2 separate regions of the Homo sapiens genome follow, and region 1 is linked to region 2. Evidence: promoter capture Hi-C in human tissues and cell types (Jung and others, 2019). All regions are on one chromosome and are shown on one strand. The core of a region is centred on a gene start or on the middle of the fragment in contact, and the rest is flanking DNA. Distances in the headings are between cores, read along the strand shown. Region 1 overlaps LOC101929710 (a long non-coding RNA gene). Region 2 holds the start of PCSK1 (proprotein convertase subtilisin/kexin type 1).

Region 1 (4,433 bases), core at 248-2,747, 150 kb before region 2:
CACCTTATTGACCCTCAAAGAGCTAGTGCTACCACCACCTAGTAGTGGGCAAGATAATTAACTTCATAGAGCCTCAGCTTCCTTATCTATAAAATGGGATAATAAAAGTATCTACTTTATAGGGAGCTGGTGAAAAATAAATGAGCTGGTGAAAAATAAATGAGACAATATATGTAAGTGCCTAGAATAGAGCCTGACACATAAAATTTTTCAGTATATCTTAGCTGTTAGTTTTTACTCTTGAAAAGACATTTCATTATTGGAAAGATATTACAATCGTTTTAAAACTGTTTTGTTAATAGAAACGCCAGCTGTTTCACCAACTCGTGTCTAAGAAAGTTGTTAATAATACAATCCTTGGACACCAAAGACGAGAAAATTTGTCCTGCACGTCTCTATATCTTTTCAAAAACCATTGCTTGGCTATTATTTATATTTTTGAAATATTAAACATCCAAAAGTTTTAAAATATGTGTGTTTGTTTTTATATGGTTTCTGGTCCTTGGCAGATTTTTATGAGTTGTTGGGTGACTGGGCAACTCTCTCAATGTCCTTCTTTCTGTTAGCCCCTAATGCTTTTGCCAGCAAGAGAATGCTGGGTGCAGTTAATCATAGATGTGTTTGATTGTGGTAATTCTTTCATTCTAAACACATATTGCTTTTCCTTAGCTCCCCAGCCTACCCCTCAACTTTGCTATGGTATAATATTAAAGCAAAGGTTTTGAGCAGTTTTAGTATAGATGAGATCTGAGGTAGGAGGTGGGCAGGTTGGAAGGAGAGGCAGCCTGTATTCTATGAATAAGTTTAGATATTATTCTGTAGGTTAAAGATTAATTAAAGGCCTTAAGAGTGGAGTAATAGGAATTGTTCTGTTGGCAGGTAGGATGGGCTGGAGGTAGTAAACTTGGAGGTGGGGAAATCAACTGGAATAAGCCAACTAAGACATGATACGGGTTTAGTCTGGAGCGTTGTGAGTGGGAATGGAGAAGGGCTGAAGAAGCTGAGATAATATATAAGATAAACAGTAAATCAGGACGTAAAGTCCGATTAGATATAATGGAGTCTAGGAGTTTCCCAGTAAAAAAAATAGTTTCTTCCTCTGTAGCACAACTTACATATTAATATCAATTAGCCATAACAGTATGTGCATATATCTGCCAGTTGTTAATCTATTGTCTCAGTTCCAAACTCACCTGTGATGCTGGGGCTGGCTCTCTGCAAACCACGTTTCAGCTTGGCCTGATGGTGCCATGCTAGACTCTGCCAAAGGGTGCTAGAGGGAGACGGGAAACTCGAGAAAAGGGAAGTGACCGAGTCCTTCCTGTTTGTTTCCTGTTCCTGCAGCATCACCCAGCAGTGCATTTTCGCCCTGGCAGCCTGCGTTGTTCCAGTTTCCAGTTGTTTTTCTCCCTTGCAGAAGCCTCCTCCTCATACACCCACAGAAACACCAGTGCCAACTAATCAGCTGCCTTCTCCTGGGAAGTTTGAGTTTAACTTGAAAAGACTCCTCCTCTAAACTTCTGGATTCTAATGACCCCAGCTTCTTCCCTGTGTTTCTCCCATCCCTAGAGGTGAAGGCTGCACTCACTTTCTCCATATTATGTCCATGTTCCTACTTGCCTTTTCAGACCTCTAACACCAACTTCCTATATGACGTTTTGTCTGTTAAAATAACTGGAGTGATTTTGTTTTATTTTCCTGATACAATATCTTTGCTAAATTCTTTCCTACTTTGCTCCACCTAGTTTAGGTGCTGCCCAATGTCATATATATTTACACAAAACAAATATCAGAGGAGTGAATGAATGGGCGGTTACCATCTAGGTCAGGGGTCCCCACTCCCCTGGCCATGGACCGATACTGATCCCTGGCCTGTTAGGACCTGGGCCATGCAGCAGGAGGTGAGTGGTGAGGCAGCATTACTGCCTGAGCTCTGTCCCCTGTCAGATCATCATCGGCGTTAGGTTCTCATAGGAGCACCAGCCCTATTGGGAACAGTGCATGCCAAGGATCTAGGTTGTGGACTCATTATGAGAACTTAACAAATGCCTGATCATCCAAGGTGGAACAGTTTCATCTTGAAACCATCTCCTCCCACCCCTTGTCTGTGGAAAAATTGTCTTCCACAAAACTGGTCCCTGGTCCCAAAAAGGTTGGCGACTACTGACCTAGGGATCATCGGAATTCCATACCTATCAAAAATAATGAAGAGAATAAAAATTTGGCAACCCATGGTTAACATTAATAAATCTTGGCGTCTATGAGAGAAGGAACACCATGGAAGAAAGGGTACTGGACTTGGAGTCAAAAGCCCTTGTTTCTGTCTACCCCCTCTACCACTACCACTTGCTGTTTGGTGTCTTAACTTCTCAATACCTTGGTTCTCACTAGTGGACAGCTCACAGGATTTACTGAAAAATCAAGTAACAATACAAATGTCTTTTTGACGAGTATATGACATAAATAGATGCACACGGTATCTCCTTTTTCTTTTAGTCTCCCCCTCTATTTTTCTGTTTGTTACTTAACAGTTCTCATAGTAAATGTGGGCAAAAAGTTGTACGAAAATAATAATGGTACTAACATTTGTGGAATGCTTATCATGTGCTAGACACCATGTTAAACATTTTACATATATTGAGTCCATTGGTCCTTACCAGAGCCTGATAGTGTCAATATTATTATTATCTTCATCTTACAAAAAGGGAAACTGAGCCAGAACTTCGAAATTGTGCCCATGTTAAGCTTTACTTTAAAGATAGTGGATCTAGAATTTGAACATATGTGCTTAAACTCCAGACCTTGTCCTGGAAACTTTCCCAGTTCATTTAATGTCTCAAAATATGTTTATAATAGAGAAAGAACTGAGTGTTTTGAGAAGAGCCCCCTCCTTTGAACAGAAATTGTCAAGCAAGTAATCATATTAAACCTTATTACCAAAGATTCAATTCAAATACAACTCCTGGCATCAACCTCCTCCCAGCCAAAAAAATACAGTAAAAAAAAAAAAAGAATAAGAGAAGAAAATTATCCAATTCTGAAAAGAATAAAATACACTTAAATGCTCTAAGTTTAATAAAGACTTTTTTAAGGTGGGGCGTTCTGAAGGACAGCCATAAAAACCATTAAAGGTTTGGGCAATATATGCACTAATCATTCTAACAGCGATTTCTCAGGCTCTGTTCCTTTCACCCTTACTTTTCTGTCTTTCCCTAACTTGTGATTTTGGGAAGGGTCTATAAAAATTCTAGCATAATTTGCTTTTTCCAAAAGAAATCACAAATCATGAAATCATGAATCACAAAATAGGTAAAACAGTATTTTCTATACAAACTTATGCATTGACATTCACATTCTTTTCTAAAGAGCCTATCAATAAGAATATATATTAATATTTAATGGTTTCTAGTGTGTTAAAACTTGGCATATATTCCATTGAATGTGTTTTCTGGTTTTTAATTAGTTTTTTAAAAATAATTATTTAAACATATTTTAAACACTTGTAATAAATGCTTGCTGAGCCCCAGAAACAACTCTGAGGGAGGGTTACAGTTTGCAAACCGCTAATGGAGGGAAATGCAGGCTTCCAGCCGCGCACTGCTCACTCCGTCCCAGTACATAATGAGATGCCATTCTCCCCTTCCTGAGTACATTTATGCTGGCCCACGCTCCTGGCAAGGGAGCAGGCGTCAGGCTCCATCGATCTTAGACACACAGCGAGTCACTTATCCATATGCTCAGAGTGTTTGACGCTGTGTCCCTGCCCAGTCATAAATTAGTCACTTTCAACGAGTGACTGTGAATATGAAGGAGGCATTTTCTGAAATACGGATCTTGTTTGAACAATTAGAGATAAAGAAACCAATAACCATTTTTCCAAATTTATTATGTATCTAAATGAAATAGCTTCAGTCTGTGGCCTCTATACATACTAATGAAAATATTCTACCCCTTAAACCTACTCCCAAAACCTCAATTCTAAAATGAGGAGAGCAGATATAAATAAAGTGAAAAATTTGCCTCTCTTTCTTTTCCTTTACCATAAGAAGGTCACTCTGCCTAATTTGTAGACATATGTTTTAGAGTCAGAAGGAAACTTAGAAATAATGCAGGCTGGTGTCTTGCAAGATGTCCTGTGCAAGAATTTCCCAAACAGTATTTCTTATGACCTCGGATTGAACATTCTATTGCAAAGAGTTTACTAATTCCTCATCCCACCCTTGGGAGGCAGGAATTTATTAGAAAGTTCTCTTTTATTGCATGTGCTACAGTTTAGTCAATTATTAGTTGATGGGTATTCAGATTGTTTATTTATTTATTTATTTATTTATTTTTTGAGACAGAGTTTCGCTCTGTCGCCCAGGCTGGAGTGGAGTGGCGCAGTCTCGGCTCACTGCAAGCTCCGCCTCCTGGGTTCACACCATTCTCCTGCC
Region 2 (4,509 bases), core at 57-2,556:
TTTGGCCTGAGTCCAACACGTTCCCAAGAGCTGGACACAAGTTGTCACGATCATGAACCTAACCACACTCCCCCCTGCGGCCAATTTCCTATTTTGCTGTTCAAAAGAGGGAAATGCACATATCAAAAGGAAAACAGCTTGGTGCTGGCCAGCTGCAGAAGGGTGGAGGTCTTTGGTGCTCAGAAGAGAGAGCAGCTCCTGCGGCAGTCCTGCGTGTGTCGCTGTCCAGACCTCGGTGCTGAATACTAGGCACTGGTATCTCCCGCCAGGTTCAATCCCTCAGGGTTCGAATAGGCTCCACCATGGGAGACTGAACTCACTTCCCTAGGGTGAGGGGTGGAGAATTCATTTAGATGTTTCCTTGCTCTCCTCCCACAGGAAACCATTTTTCCACAAAGAGGCATTGTGCATTTTATGGGAAAGTAATGGCACAGCTCCAGCTCAGCACCAAAGTGAAGAGCTCTACTGAGGCACAATGGAAAGTCGAGGTAAATAAAAACTGCTCTTTCCCTCCCTGAATCAACACAACAGCTTTTGGGATCCTAGATCCCCTTGTTGACGAATTCTTAAAAATATGTTTTTTTAAAATCACATGATTAATCATTTTACTGATAAACACCCTAAAAGGTGGTGGTGGCGCTGGCTTTGCAATATCGGAGTATAACTACTGATATTGTTTTACTGAGGTTGAGAAACAAAGGGGAGGAGGGAAGTAAACTTGTAAACTAAGGTGGCTTGAATGGTTAAAAATTCATTTTTAATAGTATTGCTTTAACATAGACATGCTAATTTTCTCAGACAATTTAGAACAGAATTGGGACAGTAGTAGCTTCCCTTCTTCTCCTTACTCTCCTAGCCTCTCTCTTTGAAAGACCTAAGAGCCTTGTTCTTCATAGCAGGTGCTGATGCCCAAAGGGCCATTATAAGAATCCTATAGCCTCCCCCCCTCCCCGCCACACACATGAGATAATAAAGTAAATACAGAGAAAATGGATGGAAGGGAGGGAAAGCACTCCCAGCCTTTGATTCTTGGTAGTTATGTTCAAGTGGGGCACTTCTCTTTGAAAAGTGAAAATGTTTCTCACGGTACAGAATTTATGGGCAGACAAGGAGCAGACTTAACTGATCCCAGCAAACAGTTCCTTCCTTTTCCTAATCCCTGGCTGCTTATTTTAGCCGCTTCTCCGCCCCGCCGGGAATACCATTCGGATCTTAGTCCAGGTAGATCTGACGTCAAGAGATGGCTTTCGTCGATTTGACGTGTAAACACTCATTTCCATTCTGGCTGGGAAGGGCTGGGGCTCCACTCAGCCTGGAGACCGAAGCGCTTCACTGAGCGCTCGCCGCCGCCCAGCCTCTCCTCTCGCGCCTCCTAGCTCTTCGCAGAGCAACCAGGAGCCAGGAGTGGTCTAGAGCCCGAGGGTGGGAAGGGGGAGTCTGTCTGGCTTTTCTCCTATCTTGCTTCTTTTTCCTCTTCCCTTCCCACTCTTGTTCAAGCGAGTGTGTGAGCTATGGAGCGAAGAGCCTGGAGTCTGCAGTGCACTGCTTTCGTCCTCTTTTGCGCTTGGTGTGCACTGAACAGTGCAAAAGCGAAAAGGCAATTTGTCAATGAATGGGCAGCGGAGATCCCCGGGGGCCCGGAAGCAGCCTCGGCCATCGCCGAGGAGCTGGGCTATGACCTTTTGGGTCAGGTAAGAGTTTCCACTTTCAAGAAACTTTCTGGGGCCCCAGGGGACTGGCGGGACTGGAGCGCGGTCTTCCAAGTGGGAGCCCCAGGTTGCACTCTCCAGAGCCCAGAGTAGCAAAGAGCAAGGAGCTGCTCCAGCCCTCGCCCCTGTCGCGCTTGGAGAGAGAGAAAGCTTGCATTATTTACTGTTTAGGCTGGGCGCAGCCAAGCAGAAGGAAGCCGCTGCAGCTGGGTAGGGCTTATGCTTACTGTTGGCCGCTCTAGAATTGAAATCCGTTCCCGCGCGGTTTGGAAGAAAAATCCCTCCACGCTTGTTCAGGGAACTTGAGATACACTCAAGCTCTTACCAACCAAGCGCCCCCGGGAGAAGCAGTGCGCTCCATCCCCCGGGACTGAGGCGGTCTGCGTCAGGAGCCGGCTGTTGCCTTCTTTTCAATATGGCAGCATCAGATCCAAGTCCTGATGCAAGGGGCTAAGCAGGCTTGGGGCTGTCCGCCCTGGCAGCCTGTAAGGGCACGCCCAGGGCATTGGAAGAGTGCCAGCTGCTGGGACTCGCGACCAGGAGGTTGGGAGGCCGCGGAGTAGCCTGGGAAGCTGGGGGGAGAAATGGTGGGTGAAAGACACGGGACCATCTATCCCCGCGACTCTCTAGGGAGCTCCGGCTTTTCACTGGGAACTTATAAAGTCCAAGCTTCATAACTTTGCCCGGCCAGTCCCACTGCAGGGTCGAGATGCCGAACTGACTATGGGGAAGGGATCTATTTCTTTCTTGTTCTTCAGCCAAGTACGTAATCGTTTTCCCGGGAATTTCAGCTTATTGTTGCCTGTCCAAGTGAAGGCTTGGTCGATAGGTAGCTGGTTGGAGGTGGGTGGGCGTCAAGACATTAAGTGGGAGACTGCTTATAGCTGAGCGATTCCGAGGGGACCCTAGGGAGTGTGACTTCTAGTCTAGAGCTTTCCTTTCCTTGGCTCGGAATCAAGCCCTCGCCCCCTGCTTGGGAAGTTGGTCTGCATTGAAGCGTGGGAGGAGGCAGTTGTAAAACATTTTGGCGCGTTTTTTCTGGAGGTGGTGGTTGAGACGCCGCTGGAGTCACGGATGAGTAATCGGCGGGGGCGTTGGCGATTCTGTAGACCGAACCCTCTGGGGAATTCGCCTGCTCTTGCTAGAGGCTTCATTCTCAACTTTATAAACCAAATTGTCTTTGAAATGCCCGAAAGGAAAATCAATGCAGATTGGCTTCCTGGTGTCCCAGCAGCAGATGAGTCTTTTGCTTTTGGCCAGCCCTTGCCCTCGTGCCAGGCTCCGTGTTAGGGGCTGAGGAATAAGAGGAGGGAAAGAAACGCTCTCAAGTAATCAAGAATCTAGAGGAGACTAGCTTAGAGATAAATGATTGCAACTGATTGTAATTTGTGTAATCATAGAAGTTGTACTTGAAGTCTCAATATTCATTGGTTGAAGGAATGAAAGTAGTAGGGAATTCGGGAGGGGTGAATGAAAACTGCCCAAAGGAGAAAACATTTGCTCCGGGAACAGAAGTCAAAGGTTGCCAGGAGCACATAATGAGATCGGAGAAGACAGTCTAGGCATAGAAAACAGCTTGTGGGAAAACAGTGAGACATAATACAGTTTAGTAGTAAGTCTGGGAATTGCACGCAATTATTAGGAATTTTTGAGACCCAAAGAGGGTATGAGTAGCAGAGGAAATTGTGCTGGTGGGTACTGTGGACATCATACAAATCATGTATGACCTATGGGGGTGGACACTGGGGATTTAATTGTGTATTCCTTGAGCAGCTACTGAAAGGCTAAATAGCACTGGTAACCGTGTAGGAGGAGACTGGGGAAGACAGCAAAAACTAAATCTCTCTTCTTTTTCCCACCTGTTAGCTCTAGGCATGCATCTAAACCTAGACCATTCAATGTGAAAACTGCTTTTCAAAATAAATAAACATAAATCTTAATAGTAAAAAACAATACATCATCATTCTTGGGAGGATCTTTGAGTAAGGGATAGCATAGTCACAAAAGCATTAACAAATAGTGGGGGAAAACCATCTATATTTATATATGATTTACAATACTATCTTTCCTCTAACCATTTTTAGTTAAGATGGCATTACTAACAAAAGTTTTAAAACAAACTTAACAAAATTATTTTATTAGAATAATAATTCTTTGTAGAAGGCTGATAGCACGTTCCTGGTTCTGCTTATTTCTCTTTTTGTTTAATATTACTAAAATTACACTAATTTAGCATTACTATATTGGGTACCTTATTGCCTCAGGATAAAGCTTGGATTAAGGTAGTGACAAGAAGAAAAACCAGTTGACAGCAGAGAAAACAGAGCTAAGCACTGGTGATCTTTTTCTGCGGCTGCTGATTTCTCTCCCCAGTTCCATCCACAGCTTATAGGAAGATTCACTGAGATTCAGGCTTGGAGCAGGGCCTAAGCTTCTCTATTTTAAAATTCTCTGGGCGATGAGAATCACCAATTTAAAGAACACGTTTCTTCTGTAATATACTGTTGTCAACTGTTTGTTTCTTAATTTTAAAAATGCAGGGTTACCTAGAGGATTTGGTAGCCTCAAATTTAGTACTGAGTAAAGGGAGACTAGCTCAAAAGAATAATGAATATAGTCCTAAATGAACCAAAGATGTCAATAGATACCCGGAGAAGTACAAACCCTCTAAAGTGGGACAACTGCCCTAAATGTAGCATGTTCTTTTCTGAAAGCCTTGAATTAGTGGAAAATCAAACGATCACTAATAGTGGCTAATAGCAATTTATCACTATGAATTCAATGGCTACATTTTATAACA

What was found. Contacts are between HindIII fragments. The study calls those that stand out against the background at their distance.
Region 1: a contact is called between a fragment that was not itself captured here and the fragment with the promoter of PCSK1 in region 2, in 1 of the 25 tissues and cell types used here (mesenchymal stem cells).

What each region holds. Positions count from the first base shown.
Region 1 is chr5:96,581,794-96,586,226 of GRCh38, reverse strand. The region is part of intron 4 of LOC101929710 (a long non-coding RNA gene); the gene reads right to left. It also overlaps a transcript of CAST not described here. Among named protein-coding and RNA genes, the nearest start is that of CAST, 78 kb to the left of the region's middle. The HindIII fragment of the contact is 5,367 bases long and covers 1-4,180 here.
Region 2 is chr5:96,430,045-96,434,553 of GRCh38, reverse strand. PCSK1 (proprotein convertase subtilisin/kexin type 1) reads left to right here and starts at 1,306. Exons shown (of 14, transcript NM_000439.5): 1 at 1,306-1,691. The coding sequence starts at 1,512. All of the region lies in intron 4 of LOC101929710 (a long non-coding RNA gene), which reads right to left. It also overlaps a transcript of CAST not described here and the pseudogene LOC102724070. RefSeq lists silencers at 154-273, 135-429. The HindIII fragment of the contact is 6,406 bases long and covers 1-2,119 here.